Regions from separate parts of the Homo sapiens genome. Here region 2 is linked to region 1. Evidence: promoter capture Hi-C in human tissues and cell types (Jung and others, 2019). All regions are on one chromosome and are shown on one strand. Each heading gives the region's core, a stretch centred on a gene start or on the middle of the fragment in contact. The rest is flanking DNA. Distances are from core to core; before and after follow the strand shown.

Region 1 (2,700 bases), core at 69-2,568:
GGGACTTCTCACCCTTAAGCTTGCAGGGATGGTGGGGGGCACATAATTATTTAAAAATCTTTCGAGGAGCAAAGTATCCCCCAAATAACGTGGGAAGGTTAGGGAGAACACAAAAGCTGACATATTCCTCTGGCTATTCCTGATGGCCAGCTCAATTCTAACTTTATGATGAGAGAATCTGGAGCACACAGTAGGAGGAATGGGAACCCCAGGTTTAGTTCCAGACCCTCCAGCTTTCCTTTTCTCTTTTAATCCCACAGCAGTTCATGCCATATTTATTCCCCCATAAGGTTCAGGTCCCCTTATTGTCTCTTACCTTATATATTCCACATGGCTTTCTTGAATTTTAAATTCCTTAAAGGCAGGGGCCAGAAAGTATACTACTTTGCAGGTATATTTTAAAAAGAACAACTAATAGGTACTTGGCAATTTTATAATATGGATGGTTATATAAATCAAATCGAAATTAAAACTGCCATGTTGACTTTTGCACCAAAAATAATTTATTTTCCAAAATAAAATTTAAATAAATAAAAATAACTCATAATTTAATAAAAATTTCAAAATCTTCTAGTGTCCTTTCATATGCAGTACATTAGCCATCAGTCACTTAAACAGCATCTGCTGGTTGAAGAATGCTTGAAGCAATTGTCCAGTCCCAGAGGCACAGGCTAGGAGATCTTCAGTTTCGGAGGTAACCTGTAAGTCTGTTAATGAAGTAAAAGTTCCTTAGGATTTCCACTCTGACTATGGTCCAGGCACAGTGACTGTACTCCTTGGCCTTCAGGTAATGCAGAATCCTCCCATAATATCTTTTCAGGTGCAGACTGCTCATGAGTTTTCCCCTGGTGAAATCTTCTTTCTCCAGTTTTTCTTCCAGGACTGTCTTCAGATGGTTTATCTGATGATAGACATTAGCCAGGAGGTTCTCAACAATAGTCTCATTCCAGCCAGTGCTAGATGAATCTTGTCTGAAAATAGCAAAGATGTTCTGGAGCATCTCATAGATGGTCAATGCGGCGTCCTCCTTCTGGAACTGCTGCAGCTGCTTAATCTCCTCAGGGATGTCAAAGTTCATCCTGTCCTTGAGGCAGTATTCAAGCCTCCCATTCAATTGCCACAGGAGCTTCTGACACTGAAAATTGCTGCTTCTTTGTAGGAATCCAAGCAAGTTGTAGCTCATGGAAAGAGCTGTAGTGGAGAAGCACAACAGGAGAGCAATTTGGAGGAGACACTTGTTGGTCATGTTGACAACACGAACAGTGTCGCCTACTACCTGTTGTGCCAGAGCAAAGGCTTCGAAAGGTTGCAGTTAGAATGTCCTTTCTCCATGGGTATGGCCTATTTATATGAGATGGTCCTCTCTCTATTCAGAGGAATTTCCCACTTTCACTTCTCCCTTTCAGTTTTCCTATGTCATTTACATTTTAGTAGTTTCTAAAACTCTTTATTTAAGCTCCTATCTTATGATATATATAATAGGGAAAAAGATTTACAAACTGTGAGGTTTTCTAATGTTTTTTAAAGTTTCAGTGAATGACTAAAGCAAATTGTAAAACAAGACTTGGGAGAAAGCAAAGGAAAGCAAACGACCTGAGAATTCAAGAACCTCAAAACACTAAAAGATACAGTTGGTCCTTCCTATCCATAGGTTCTGTATCCGTGGATTCTACTGACTGTAGATGGAAAATATTTTTTAAAAATACAATAAAAATAATAATACAACAACAAAAAATAATGTAAATTTTAAAGATACAGTGTTACAGCTATTTAGCATTTATATTGTATCAGGTATTATAAGTAATCTAGGGATGATTTAAAATATACAGAAATACATGTGCAGATTATATGCAAATACTGCAACGTTTTATAAGAGGGAATTGAGCATCCTCTGATTTTGGTATCTGTGGAGGCAGCGGGATGGTGGTCCTAGAACCAATCTTCTTTGGATACTGAAAGACTGAGAGATAGATTTACTGAAAAGTCAATCAGGGAATAGTAGCTGAAACTGCAAGGAGTTTTGCCCAATATGATAATAGATTAGTGTGAGAGGGCCTTGGAAACTTCTGAAAGGCACTGGAATAGTCTAGGGTATAAGAAATTTTCAAACCAACCAGTCACAGCCCTTTTGATCCTACACAGAGGAGAAACTGCCACAAGTGGAATCACACTTCAGCAGGATATAAACAACACAGACAAGGATAGAGAAGGCCCAACCAGGGTGGGATGGAGAACTCAGAAGGCAGGCTGCTATGTTTTTGACCATTTCACAAAAGCTAACAGAAGAGGGAGCTCTGTGAAGTTAGAAAAACCGCCCTGAACCACTTCCTGGTTCAGGAAAAATAAGCTCTTACAAGACCAAACAACAGAAAAGTATTAAGATGGAATCTCATACAAAGTTATTAATAGAAAAAAGAGAAGGCTTTGGGAAGATGGCTGATTAGAAGCAGTTGTGGTCTGTGGCACTCTGCTCTTTGGCCAGGATGGTCTGACTGCCCTGAGCCTGTCATGCTGTGAGAAAGCCCAAACTAGCTTACAAGGAGAGACCATGAAAATTGGCAGTGTATTTCAAAATTTAAAATTTCAAGCAATGAGATTGTTCCTTTAACTTGCAATACCGTTACTAGTTATTTACTATGGCTATCCCTGCAGAAATATGCATGTGTATGTGCATGTGTATTATAGATACATACAAAACAT
Region 2 (2,700 bases), core at 37-2,536, 49 kb after region 1:
AAACGCATCTGTTTATCATAGGCAACATCTACATATGTTTACAATTCAAAAGAAAGAATTTTTTCTTCCTTTTAAGTTTATTTTTAAATTGACAAAACAGTTTATATTTACCAGGTATAACATGTTGTTTTGAAATATATATGTTATGGAATGGACAAATTGAGTGCATTACCATAAGCATTACCTCACATACTTATGGTTTTTTGTAGTAAGAACGCTTAAAAAGTACTTTCTTGGCAATTTTCAAGAATATAATACATTGTTACTAATGACTAACTGCAGTCACCATATTGTTCAATAGATCTTTTGGACTTATTCCTCCTATCTAACTGAAATTATGTATCCTTTGACCAACATCTTCCCAATACTACACTCCTCCAGCCCCTGGTAACCACCACTCCACTCTCTACTACTATGAGTTTAACTTTTTAAGATTCCATATGTAGGTGAGATTATGCACTGTCTTTCTATGCCTTGCTTATATCAGTTAACATAGTGTCATCCAGATTCATTCATGTTGTCTCAAATGACAAAATTTCCTTCCTTTTTAAAATGGCAAATAGTATACCATTTTGTACATACTATTCATACATTCTCTTTATCTATTAATCTCTTCATTAACATTTAGGTTGTTTCCATATCTTGGCTATTGTGAATAGTATTCCAATGAACATGGGAGTGCAGATATCTCTTTGACATACTGATTTCATTTCCTTTGGATATATTCTCACTTGTGGGATTGTTGCATCATATGGTTGTTCTATTTCTAATTTTTATAAAAGCATCAAAAGTAACAAACAATTATGAACAAATGTGATAGAAAATTTGCCAAGACTGTACACTGGAAACTGTAAAATGTCTCTCAGAGAAAACAGAGAAGACATAAACAAATGGGGAGAGATACCATGTTAAAGGATTAAAAGACTCAGTATTGTTAAGATATCAATTGTAATCAAATTGATCTGTAGACTCAATGCAATACCAATCAAAATTCCACCAGGCTTTTTGTATAGAAATTTAAAAATGGATTCTAATATTTATATGAAAATGTGTAGAACAAAAAACAACCAAAATAACATTTAAAAGAACACAAAATGTTGGAGGATTTATACTATCTGACTTCAGGAGTAAAGTAATCAAGGCAGTAAAGCATTAGAATAAAAAAAACACAAATACATCAATGGAACAGACAGGAGTATGCACAAATAGAGCCACGCATATACTGTTGATTGTTTTTTTCAACAAAATCACAAAGGGTATTCAACCAAAAAGTTTGCAGATGACATGATTGTATATTTAGAAAACCCCATTGTCTCAGCCCAAATCTCCTTAAGCTGATACACAGCTTCAGCAAAGTCTCAGGATTCAAAATCAATGTGCAAAAATCACAAGCATTCTGTACACCAACAACAGACAGAGAGCCAAATCATGAGTGAACTCCCATTCACAATTGCTACAAAGAGAATAAGATACCCAGGAATACAACTTACAAGGGATGTGAAGGACCTCCTCAAGCAGAACTACAAACCACTGCTCAAGGAAATAAGAGAGGATACAAATACATGGATAAACATTCCATGCTCATGGATAGGAAGAATCAATATTGTCAAAATGGCCATATTTCCCCAAGTAATTTATAGATTCAATGCTATCTCCATCAAGCTACCATTGAGTTTCTTCATATGGAACTAAAAAAGAGCCCGCATAGCCAAGACAATCCTAAGCAAAAAGAACAAAGCTGGAGGCATCACACTACCTGACTTCAAACTACACTACAAGGCTACAGTAACCAAAACAGCATGGTACCAAAACAGATATATAGACCAATGGAACAGAACAGAGGCCTCAGAAATAACTCCATACATTTATAACCATCTGATCTTTGAGAAACCTGACAAAAACAAGAAATGGGGAAGGGATTCCCAATTGAATAAATGGGGTTGGGAAAACTGGCTAGCCATATGCAGAAAGATGAAACTGGATCCCTTCCTTACACCTTATACAAAAATTAACTCAAGATGGATTAAAGACTGAAACATATGACCTAAAACCATAAAAACCCTAGAAGAAAACCTAGGCATTACCATTCAGGACATAGGCATGAGCAAGGACTTCATGACTAAAACACCAAAAGTAATGGCAACAAAAGCCAAAATAGACAAATGGAATCTAATTAAACTAAAGAGCCTCTGCACAGCAAAAGAAACTATCATGAGAGTGAACAGGCAACCTACAGAATGGGATAAAATTTTTGTAGTCTATCCATCTGACAAAGGGCTAATATTCAGAATCTACAAAGAACTAAAACAAATTCACAAGAAAAAACAAACAACCCCATCAAGAAGTGGGCAAAGGATATGAACAGACACTTCTCAAAAGAAGACAATTATGCAGCCAACAAACATATGAAAAAAAGCTCATCATCACTGGTGATGGTGCAGAGAAATGCAAATCAAAACCACAGTAACCACAATGAGATACCATCTCATGCCAGTTAGAATGGTGATCATTAAAAAGTCAGGAAACAACAGATGCTAGAGAGGATGTGGAGAAATAGGAATGCTTTTACCTTGTTGGTGGGACTGTAAATTAGTTCAACCATTGTGGAAGACAGTGTGGCATTTCCTCAAGGATCTAGAATTAGAAATACCATTTGACCCAGCAATCGCATTACTGGGTATATACCCAAAGGATTATAAA

What was found. The method cuts DNA at HindIII sites, captures the fragments that hold promoters and counts their contacts. A contact is called where the count stands out against the background at its distance.
Region 2: a contact is called between a fragment that was not itself captured here and the fragment with the promoter of IFNB1 in region 1, in 1 of the 25 tissues and cell types used here (hippocampus).

Annotation. Positions count from the first base shown.
Region 1 is chr9:21,076,624-21,079,323 of GRCh38, forward strand. IFNB1 (interferon beta 1) reads right to left here and starts at 1,319. Exons shown (of 1, transcript NM_002176.4): 1 at 481-1,319. The coding sequence starts at 1,246. The coding sequence ends at 683. The HindIII fragment of the contact is 10,658 bases long and covers 1-2,700 here.
Region 2 is chr9:21,125,931-21,128,630 of GRCh38, forward strand. No RefSeq gene overlaps it. Among named protein-coding and RNA genes, the nearest start is that of IFNW1, 15 kb to the right of the region's middle. The HindIII fragment of the contact is 4,514 bases long and covers 1-2,700 here.